Linked DNA regions of Homo sapiens: regions 1 and 2 are each linked to region 3. The links are contacts of gene promoters, found by promoter capture Hi-C in blood cells and fetal thymus (Javierre and others, 2016). All regions are on one chromosome and are shown on one strand. Each heading gives the region's core, a stretch centred on a gene start or on the middle of the fragment in contact. The rest is flanking DNA. Distances are from core to core; before and after follow the strand shown. Region 1 has its middle 11 kb from the start of MUC3A. Region 2 has its middle 26 kb from the start of ACHE. Region 3 holds the start of MUC17 (mucin 17, cell surface associated).

Region 1 (3,778 bases), core at 774-3,273, 82 kb after region 3:
GTGTCTAGTGAGATCCTGCTTTCTGGCTTATAGACAGTTCCTTCTTTCTGTGTCTTCACATGGTAGAAGGGCAAGGGTCTTTCTAGGTCTCCTTTTTTTTTTTTTTTTTTTTTTTTTCCTGAGACAGAGTCTCACTGTGTCACCCAGGCAGGCTTGGGGCTCACTGCGACCTCTTCCTCCCAGGATCAATGATTCTCCTGCCTCAGCCTCCCAAGTAGCTGGGACTACAGTCATGTGCCACCATGCCCTGCTAGTTTTTGTACTTTTAGTAGAGATGTATTTCACCATGTTGGCCAGGCTGGTCTCGAACTCCTGACCTCAAGTGATCCACCTACCTCAGCCTCCCGAAGTGCTGGGATTATGGGTATGACCTTATCTGGCCTCTGGGTCTCTTTCATAAGGGCACTAATCCCATTCATGAGGGCTCCACCACCATGGCCTAATCACCTCCTGATATGGTTTGGGTCTGTGTCCCCACCCAAATCTCATGTTAAAATGTAATCCCCAGTGCTGGAGGTGGGGCCTGGTGAGAGGTGATTGGATCATGGAGGTGAATCCTTCATAAATGGTTTAACACCATCCCCTTGGTGCTATTCTTGTGGTAGAGTTTTCATGAGCTCTGGTTGTTTAAAAGTGTGTGGCACCTCCCCACTCTCTCTCTTCCTCCTGCTCTGGCTGTGTGAAGACACCTGCTCAGGCTTTGCCTTCTGCCATGAGTAAAAGCTCCCTGAGGCCTCCCCAGCCATGCTTCCTGCATGGCCTGCAGAACCCTAAGCCAATTAAACATATATATGACCCAGTCTCAGTTCCTTCTTTTTTTTTTTTTTTTTTTTTGAGACAGAGTCTTGCTCTGTCATCCAGGCTGGAGTGCAGTGGTGCGATCTTGGCTCACTGCAACCTCCACCTCCCGGGTTCAAGTGATTCTCCTGCCTCAGCCTCCCGAGTAGCTGGGATTACAGGTGTGTGTCACCACTGCCAGCTAATTTTTGCATTTTTTAGTAGAGAGGGGTTTCACCATGTTTGCCAGGCTGGTCTCGAACTTCTGGCCTCAAGTGATTCACCCACCTCGGACTCCCGAAGTGTCAGTTATTTCTTTATAACAATGTGAGAACAGACTAAAACACCTCCTAAAGGCCCCACCTCCTGATATCATCACCTTGGGGGTTAAGATGGCAACATATATGGATTTCGGGGAGCCACAAACATTCAGACCATGGCACTAAGTACATCTATAAAGCTAAGGTCATTAATAGGTTTTTTTTATATGTTTATTTGTTTATTTTGAAACGGAGTCTCGCTCTGTCACCAGCCTGCAGTGCAGTGGCACAATCTCACCTCACTGCAACCTCTGCCTCCCAGATTCAAGTGATTCTCCTTCCTCAGCCTCCCAAGTAGCTGGGATTACAGGTACATGCCACCACACCCAGCTAATTTTGGTATTTTTAGTAGAGATGGGGTTTCACCATGTTGTCCAGGATGGTCTCGATCTCCTGACCTGGTGATCTGCCCACCTCGGCCTCCAAAAGTGCTGGGATTACAGGTGTGAGCCACCATACCCGGCCAATCATTAATAGGTTTTGGAGGGCGATTCTTTGTTATGTCAAGACGAATCTTTCAGCTGGGCACAGTGGCTCACACTTGTAATCCTAACACTTTGGGAGACGGGAGGATCACTTGAGCCCAGGAGTTCAAGACCAGCCTGGGCAACATAGTGAGACACTGTTTTAAAAAAAAAAAATCACTGTGATTAAATGCAGCAGTGCAGAATTGCTTTTGGTTTACTATTTTGACAAGAGCCATCCACTGGTCTCATCCTAACATTTCTTATTCTATAGGTTAGGAAGTCAGTGTGGGAATTCTGCAGGGTGGTGAGGATATTAATCTCAATTTTACACTTAGATATTAGGAAAGTGACCATAGGAAGTTTGTGGGCACAGGGGCCTATAGTGAGGCAAAGTCAGGGTATAACTACATTTATCAGGGCTTTTGTTAAAAAGTCAAGAAAGGTCGGGCATGGTGGCTGACACCCATAATCCCAGCACTTTGGGAGGCTGACGCTGGCAGATCACTCGAGGTCAGGAGTTTGAGACCAGCCTGGCCCCCGTCTCTACTAAAAACACAAAAAAATTAGTCGGGCATGGTGGCACACACCTGTAATCCTGGCTACCCGGAAGGCTGAGTCAGGAGAATCACTTGAACCCGGGAAGCAGAGGTTGCAGTGAGCTGAGATGGCCCCACTGCACTCCAGCCTGGGCGACAGAGTGCGACTCCACCTCAAAAAAAAAAAAAAAAAAAAAAGTCAAAAAAAAAGACCAGGTATAGTGGCTCATGCCTGAAATCTCAGCACTTTGGGAGGCAGAGGCTAGAGGATCCCTTGAGGTCAGAAGTTGGAGACCGGCCTGGGCAACATAGTGAGACCTCATCTCTACCAAAAAAAAAAAAATTTTAAATTATCTGTGTGTGTTGGTGTAGTGTGTGCCTATAGTCACAGCTACTAAGGAAGCTGAGGCAGGAGGATTGCTTGAGCCCAGGAGTCTGAGACTGCAGTGAGCCATGATCATGCCACTCCACTCCAGCCTGGGTGGCAGAGCAAGACTTTCCTCATATATTTAAAAAAAAAAAAACAGATGGCAGCAAGGCTGTGGAGAAAAGGGAACACTCATTCACTGTTGGTCAGAATGTAAATTGTTCAGCCATTACGAAGAGCAGTTCGGATATTTCTCAAAGAACTATGAGTCGAAGTACCAACCAACCCAGCAACCCCACTACTGGGTAACTATCCCCCCAAAAAATAAATTGTTCTACCAAAAGGACACCTGCACCCATGGCACAACAGTATTCACAATAGAAAAGACATGGAATCAACCTAGATGCCCATCTATGGTGAAAAATACAGTATACATACACCATGGATTACTACACAGCCATAAAAAAGAACAAAATCATGTCCATTGCAGCAACGGGGATACAGCTGGAAACCACTAGTCTGAGCTAACTAACGCAGAAACAAAAAACCAAATAACGCTTATTCTCACTTATAAGTGGGAGCTAAATATTGGGTGCACATGGACATAAAAATAAAAACAATAGACACAGGGACTATTAGAGGTAGAAGAGAAGGAGCAGGGCAAGGGCTGAAAAAATGATCTACTGGATACTATGCTCACTACCTTGGTGACATATTCATTCATACCCCAAAACTCAGCATCACATCATATACCTTTGTAACAAACCTGCACTTGCATCCCCTTTTTCTAAAATATTAATAGAAGTTGGCTGGCCAGGCGTGGTGGCTCACGCCTGTAATCCCAGCACTTTGGGAGGCCGAGGCGGGCGGAGGTCAGGAGTTCGAGACCAGCCTGGCCACTGTGGTGAAACCCTGTCTCTGCTAAAAATACAAAAATTAGCCTGGTGTGGTGGCAGGCGCCTGTAATCCCAGCTGCTCGGGAGGCTGAGGCAGGAGAATCACTTGAACCCGGGAGGTGGAGGTTGCAGTAAGCCCGGATCGTGCCACTGCACTTTAGCCTGGGTGACAGAGTGAGACCCTGTCTTGAAAGAAAGAAAAAAAGAGAGAAAGAGAGAAAGAGAGAGAGAAAGAAAGAGAGAAAGAACAGAAAAAAAGAAAGAAAGAAAGAAAGAAGAAAGAGAAAAAGAAAATTAGTTCTTCAGTTGCATTATCCATATTTTAAGAGTACAATGCCACATATGGCTGCTGTCTGCCATATTGGATCATTAGAGATAGAACATTGTCTTCATCGGAACAGGGTCTATGGCCGGA
Region 2 (3,926 bases), core at 1,391-3,890, 98 kb after region 3:
CTTGGCTGCCTCTACTCTATTATTGTACACCTTGAAGGTGAGGTTAATTAAGTCCTGTTGTGGGGTTTGAGGGCCAGAATTTAATTTTTGGAGTTTTATTTAATGTCAGGAGTGGATTGGATAATAAAATGTATATTGAGAATAAGATGACCTTTTGACCTTTTAGGGTCTAGGGCTGTAAAGTGTCTCGGTTGCTGCCGAACAAGCCATGAACTGGGTTGGGTTTTTCATATTTGATGAAAGAGCCTAAATGCTAACTGATTTGGGAGAGTTCAGATAAAGAAAAAGGAGCATTAACCTTGACTATGCCTTTAGCTCCAGCCACCTTTTTAAGAGGAAATTGCTGGGCAGGTTGGGGAGGGCTAGTCGTGGAATAAAACTATAAGCCAGACTGGGTGTGAGGAGGGGAGGTGATAAAAGGATTATAGGGTGGGGGAGCAGAGGCTGAGGAAGAATTAGGACCTGGCTCAGCCTGGCGAGGAGCAGCCTGGGGAAGAGGGGAGAAGTCAGATGGGTCTGTAGAAAAGGAAGATTAGAAAGACTCAGCAACGCCTGGGGTTGGGACTGAGAGGACAGGCAGGAGGGAAAGAAGGAGGATTTGGGACAAGTCACATTGGGAACAGACAGTAGGAAGGGAACAATGTGTAAAAGAATGCCTGGATGTCAGGCACCTCAGACCGTTTGCCTATTTTATGACAAGAATTATCTAGATCTTGTAGGATGGAAAAATCAAAAGTGCTGTTTTCTGGCTATTTGGAACCACTGTCGAGTTTGTATTGGGGTCAAGCAGCATTGTAGAAGAAGATAAGGCATTTAGGTTTAGGTCAGGTGTAAGTTGAAGAGGTTTTAAGTTCTTGAGAACACAGGCTAAGGGAGAAGAAGGAGGAATGGAGGGTGGAAGGCTGCCCATAGTGAAGGAGGCAAGCCCAGAGAAAAGAGAGAGTAGAGACATAGAGAGAAGGCGTCAGGGGTGCTTGCCCCCTAGGAAAGTGGAGAAGGGGTAGAGACATGGAGAGAAGGGTTCAGGGGGTTCTTGCCCCTCAGAAAAGTGGAGAAGAGGTGGAGACACGGAGAGAAGGGGTTGGGGGATTCTTGCCCCCTAGAAAAGCAGAAAAGGGGTAGAGACACAGAGAGAAGGGGTCAGGGGGTTCTTGCCCCCCAGAAAAGCGGTACTTTCCACTAAGGGTGAAGGACCAAGGCAGGCATCCCCACATGGTCAGACACCTCTGAAATGTGGGTGAATAATCAGGCAGGCATCCCCGTGTGATTAAACACCAAGGGAGACTCTCTTCCTGAGTCTGTGACCAGTGCCGGAGTTTTGGGTTCATGGATAAAATGCATCTCCTTTGTGTCTACCGGAAAAGGAAAGGAACTGAAATTAAGAGAAGGGAGAGACTGAAGTGTGGCACCAAGATTGAAAGGAGAAAGAGGTTGAGGGATACTAAGAGAGGTTGGAGAAGGGAGTGAAAAAAGGCCACTTACCCGATTTAAAATTGGTGAGATGTTCCTTGGGTGGTCAATCTGAGGACCCAAGGTCGTAGGTGGATCTTTCTCATGGAGCAAAGAGCAGGAGGACAGGGGATTGATCTCCCAAGGGAGGTCCCCCGATCTGAGTCACGGTACCAAATTTCACTCACGTCCGTGTGAAGAGACCACCAAACAGGCTTTGTGTGAGCAATAAAGCTTTTTAACCACCTGGGTACAGGCAGGCTGAGTCCGAAAAGAGAGTCAACGAAGGGAGATGGGGTGGGGCCATTTTTTAAGATTTGGGTAGGTAAAGGAAAATTACAGTCAAAGGGGGGTTCTCTGGTGGGCAGGGGTGGGGATCACAAGGTGCTCAGTGGGGGAGCTTTTGAGCCAGGATGAGCCAGGAAAAGGAATTTCAGAAGGTAATGTCATCAGTTAAGGCAGGAAAAGGCCATTTTCACTTCTTTTGTCATTCTTCAGTTACTTCAGGCCATCTGGATGTATACGTGCAGGTCACAGGGGATATGATGGCTTAGCTTTGGCTCAGAGGCCTGACAGTCAGGAGTTTGAAACCAGCCTGGCCAACATGGTGCAACCTCATCTCTACTAAGAATACAAAAATTAACGGGTATAGTGGTGGGCACCTGTAATCCCAGCTACTCAGGAGGCTGAGGCAGGAGATCACTTGAGCCCAGGAGGCAGAGGTTACAGTGAGCTGAGATTGTGCCACTGCACTCCAGCCTGGGCAACAGAGAAAGACTCCCTCTCAAAAAAAAAAATTGGCCAGGGGTGCTGGCTCATGCCTGTAATCCCAGCGCTTTGGGAGGCCAAGGCAGGAGGATCAGTTGAAGCCAGGAGTTCGAGACCAGCCTAGCCAACATAGTGAAATTTCATCTCCAATAAAAATACAAAAATTAGCCAGACATGGTAATGCACACCTGTAATCCCAGCTACTTGGGTGGCTGAGGCACAAAAATTGCTTGAGCCTGAGAGGCAGAGGTTGCAGTGAGTGCCACTGCACCCCAGCCTGGGCAACAGAGTGAGACTCTGCCTAAAATAAAATAAAATAAAATGTATAAAAGCTGTAAACCAACCACCTTGGGCACCTGTTCTTAGGACTTTTAGGGGCTATGTCATGGGCCTTGGTCACTCATATTTGGCTCAGCATAAATCTCTTTAAATATTTTAGAGTTTAACTCTTTTTGTCAACACATCAGTTGACAGTGATCAGTAGTCTACCTAAAACTGCCTTTGTGAAAATTTTATCACTGAGAAAAATTATAATAGTAAGCAGAGTTAACACCCTCCACCTGCACCACCTTGCCTTTCCCTTGATTATTTGGGGGCTATTGGGCCAAGCTAACTTTGGAAGACATTTTAGGTTATCATTTAAATGATAACAGGCCTTGCCCTGAAACTCCTCTCCTCCCCAAAGCCTTTTGTAAAGCCAATGGGAGACCATCAGGCTTGGAGGAGAGGAGCTTGAGTCCTAAGATTGGCCTTTTGAGATGTCTTTTCAGGATTTTTGCATGTCAGACATCCATGGCTCCACCTGAACCCACCTGAATCCCCCACCAAACCCACCCCTGTGGCCCTGCCCAGAAGCAATTCTGCCTGCAGGAGGCAGAATTTCATCTCCACCCCAACCAATCAGCAGCAAGCACCTATTACCTGGCCACCCTCATCCCTTTGTGGAGTCCTAATTAGGGAAAGGGAACCAGGCTGGTGGAACCAAGAGAAAGCAAAAAGAGAAAGCAGATAAGCAACAAGTCTGTCTTTCTTCATGATCCAGGACACACAGCCCTCCTGCACAAGTAACTTACAACCTTTCCTGCACCCAGCTATCACCAGACACCTGTAAGTTAGCTCACTGCAACTTTGATGTTATCAGTACTACATAAAGCCCTCTTCAACAGAGAGCATAAACACTACCCTATAAAATCTCCAGCGAGTCTTTGTTTTTTGCAGTCAGTTTCTCTTCTGCTGGTAGCCCGTTATCTCTCTGGCAGTGTATTTTCCTACTTTGTCTAATAAATTTGGCTTCCTTTACTTACAACTGTCTTCACAAATTCTTTTACCCCACACCACCAGCTGTCGTTTTCCCATGACACCCCTAACATACAAGCTTTGGACAAGATGATTTGAATGCTAACTCCATCTCCCATGTGGCATGGCGAGCCTTGTGTCTATTAAACTCTTTCTCTACTACAATGCCATGGTGTTTCTTTACGCAGCAGGCAAGAAGAACCTCTCAGGTGGTTACACATCCTCCTGCTCTCCTTTCCAAGCTAGCTGCTGCTGAAGAAGAACTAGAGGCAAAGCTGAGTGCCCTGGTGGAGGGGAGGACAGCTGCTTGCACTCAGAAGCCTGCACAGATACAGAGAGGTCAGCCACCATGGGAGTAGGGATGAGAAATTCTGTCCTGCCAAAACCCCCACCAACCCAAAGACAAAAGGAAA
Region 3 (3,455 bases), core at 503-3,002:
CCCATGACTTCAGCAGGGGTGAGGCTCTGGGTCCCTGGAGAAGGGACATGGAAAGGGTCAGAGGCTGCCCAAAGCTGGCCAGGGTCCCAAAGGACAGCCAATGCCAGGCACAGAGACGGAGGAGCCACAGAATCCTGGAGAGTAGGAACAGGGTCTGAGAAGTCACATTCTACAAAGGCAGACTGAGGCTAGGGATGAAATCAATGATAACACGCAGAAAGTGGGGAGAGGCCAGGAAGGGGCCAAGGAGAGGTGGGGAGAAGAAGAAAGAGAAGAGAGGGGGAAGGAAGGGGCTAGAAGAACCCAGGAAGAGGGAAGGGAGGAGCAGAGAGAAAGAAAGGAGGGGGCCAGGAGCGGTGGCTCACCCCTGTAATCCCAGCACTTTGGGAGCCCAAGGTGGGAGGACTACCTGAGATCAGGAGTTTGAGACCAGCCCGGTTAACATGGTGAAACCCTGTCCTTACTAAAAATATACAAAATCTAGCTGGGCATGGTGGCATGTGGCTGTAATCCCAGCTACTCAAGAGCCTGAGGCGGGAGAATCGCTTGAACCCGGGAGGCAGAGGTTGCAGTGGGCTGACATCACGCTACAGAACTCCAGCCTGGGTGACAGAGCGAGGCTCCGTCTCAAAAAAAAAAAAAAAAAAAAAAGGAGGAGACAGAGGTGAGGGTTGGGGAGGAAAACAAAAGATCATGTCTAAGATGCTGTTATTAGAGATACATCACCAAGGGTCTGGAAGGCACAGAAAGTGCAAGGAAAGGAGTGTTTTCATTACAACGAATGGGCTGGCAGATCTGGGTGAGATTGCCACAGGGTGACATCTCGAGGGGCAGGGACCCTGAGGTCTATGGGTCCAGTTTCTGTCTTGGTTCCCCTGCGCCCTTCTCTGGGGGCAGGTGAGGGGCAGAGGGAGCTCCCAGAGAGTCCAGCTGGAACCCACTGTCATCCCTCCTGCTCTGAGCCCCCCGGGGTCCCTGTGGCCATGAAGCCCAAAGCGGCTGAGCTGGAATGATCCTCAGAGGTCCTAATGCCTTGTCTTTTGGGGAGACTGAGGCAGGAGATGAACTGAGCGGCCCCAGGGTGCACAGCTGGTTCATGGCAGGATTAGAATCTGGGGCTCCTGAAACGCCATTTTGTGCCCATGTGGCTATGTCCCGGAAACATTCCTGGGGCACACAGCAGGGTGTGCTGGTGTGGGAGGTGACAGGGACTTGGCGGGAACATTCACTGGGTAAGGATAGACTCTAATATGGGTTGAACACCAGTCTTGTGCCAGGGATCATGCCTCGGGGGGGGAGCTCTTTTCAATCCTAGCAGCTGCCCTGAAAAGCAGGTGTTATTATTCTTACTTTCCGGAGGGGAGACTGAGGCTCGGAAGGGGAAACTAAGGCTCAGAGACCTCAACTGGAAGAGGCTCCAATGCCCTGGCTCTTCCCCCAAAGCTCGCTGGGGAGAGAAGAGAAGTCCAGGGGGTAGGCACAGGGCTGAGCTCCAGGCAGAGGGCACACCCCTATTGGTGTCCTGGAGGCAGCTCTCCCTCGGGGATGGGCAGACAGAGCAGGCTGGCCCCTGGGATGGGGGCCTCTTGGGCAGCGGGGCGTGGGGGTCACTCACCCTGTTCTGCAGCAGCTTGTGGGGGCAAGAGCGAGAGGACCAAGGTCAGCAGACACAGCGCCATGGTCCCTGGCCTTGGCATCGGAGCTCTGAGCACGTCTCACTTGCCTGTCACCCCCAGAGGAGCTGGCGAAATGAGCCTCAGAGAAGGAAACTGATAAATAAATGGGTGCCAGAGACCTTTGGTCCCTGAGACACTGGGGATCAGGGGCCAGCCTGAGCCTGAGTCAGTCTGGAAGCTTCCCTCATGACTTGGGGCGCAGGGCCTGTTTCAGGCCAAAGGGCAGAGGGAGGGGGTGCCTCTCCCTGGCCCGGCAGCCCATAGGCATGAGGGTTATCAGCTTTATCACCCCAACAGAGGGGCAGCCCAGAGGGCCTGTAGGAGCCAGGGGGGAACTGATGAGATCCCCCGACCGAGGGTGGTGGGAGATGGGCAAGAGGGACTGGGCCTGAGCTGGGAAAGGAGGAGGGTACCACCTGCATTTGACCCTAACCCCTAGCAGGGACACCCCCTTTGTCTCTTTTCTAACCCTTCTTATTGGCCGGGTATGGTGGCTCACACCTGTAATCCCAGCACTTTGGGAGGCTGACGCGGGAAGATCACTTGAGATGAGGAGTTTGAGACCAACCTGGCCAACATGATGAAACACCATCTCTACTAAAAATACAAAAATCAGCCAGACTTGGTGGCGGGCGCCTGTAATCCCAGCTACTCAGGAGGCTGAGGCAGGAGAATCGCTTGAACCTGGGAGGCGGAGGTTGCAGAGAGCCAAGATCGTGCCTCCGTACTCCAGCCTGGGCAACAGAGCAAGACTCTGTCTCGGCAAAAATAAATAAATAAAATAACCCTTCTTATTGTCCTATGAGTATGCCCTGAAGACATGGCCATGCCTGGGCAGGGAGTTCTTGGGTTTGGTCTGTGGGTTCCGAGGTAAGCACAGCTCCCATGGCCATCTGGAGTGACCCTGCCTTGTGCAAGCTCAGCAGAGCCAAGTGCTCACTCCCTGGCCAACTGGGGTTGAATCTGAGGTCCTCTCCTGTCCCCAGAACCTGACATTAGGCTTTTCTGCCACAGGGACCTCAGCAGAGGCAGGCCTAGACCTGTCCTGACTGGAGCCGGGGAGGGGGCTCCCTGCAAAGACACAGGAAGGGGCCCAGAGCATTCGTTCCATGCCCCATTCAGCAGCCAGTCCTGGGAGAAATCCCATCCCAGGAGGGCTCTGACCCCTAACCTGACCCCAACTGCAGAAGGAGGAGAAGGAAACCTCTCACTTCTCATTCTGAGCTTTCAGATTTGCTTTTATTGGTAGGGAAATTCCAGAGTGGGGAGCCACCCAGGAGGAGACAGGGGTGCCGAGGCTTCTGGGAGTCTGGAAGCTCCCGGATGGAGAGGCTTACAGCCCCCAGCCTTCCCCAGCAGGAGCACAGGCAGGGGACTGGCCAAGTCTGTCAGCTCAGAGCAGGACCGGCTTCAGGGCCTGACTTCGGTCTCCTCTTGACCCGCCCCGGAGGCTTGTGGTGGGCTCTGTGTTTGCAGCTCTCCTGAACAGAGCTAGATGAGGGTGGGAGGCCCCCGTTGGCTCACACAGTGGATGCTACCATCTCCGGCCTCTGGATGTGGAGCTGGGGGACGGGAGAGAAGAGGTGAGGCCAAGGGGCAGACCCGGGAAAGGGGGAGCCCCAGGAGGAAGAGGGAGCCCTGGCGGGGAGGAGGGAACCCCAGGGGGAGGGAGGGAGTCCCAGGGGGAGGGAGGGAGTCCTAGGGAGAGGAGGGAGTGGCGGGGGAGGGGGGAGTCCCAGGGGAAGGGGTGGCCCCAGGGTGAGGAGGGAGTCCTGGGGG

What was found. The method cuts DNA at HindIII sites, captures the fragments that hold promoters and counts their contacts. A CHiCAGO score of 5 or more calls a contact.
Region 1: a contact is called between a fragment that was not itself captured here and the fragment with the promoter of MUC17 in region 3, in 1 of 17 cell types (naive B cells). The highest score is 5.1, in naive B cells.
Region 2: a fragment that was not itself captured here is called in contact with the fragment with the promoter of MUC17 in region 3 in 1 of 17 cell types (endothelial precursors); the score reaches 5.2 in endothelial precursors.

The regions. Positions count from the first base shown.
Region 1 is chr7:100,936,180-100,939,957 of GRCh38, reverse strand. No RefSeq gene overlaps it. Among named protein-coding and RNA genes, the nearest start is that of MUC3A, 11 kb to the left of the region's middle. The HindIII fragment of the contact is 5,286 bases long and covers 1-3,778 here.
Region 2 is chr7:100,920,373-100,924,298 of GRCh38, reverse strand. No RefSeq gene overlaps it. Among named protein-coding and RNA genes, the nearest start is that of ACHE, 26 kb to the right of the region's middle. The HindIII fragment of the contact is 1,909 bases long and covers 1,686-3,594 here.
Region 3 is chr7:101,018,378-101,021,832 of GRCh38, reverse strand. MUC17 (mucin 17, cell surface associated) reads right to left here and starts at 1,752. Exons shown (of 13, transcript NM_001040105.2): 1 at 1,616-1,752. The coding sequence starts at 1,697. It overlaps MUC12 (mucin 12, cell surface associated), which reads right to left. Exons shown (of 12, transcript NM_001164462.2): 12 at 2,897-3,238. The coding sequence ends at 3,197. RefSeq lists an enhancer at 2,852-3,001 and a silencer at 3,051-3,345. The HindIII fragment of the contact is 6,139 bases long and covers 1-1,856 here.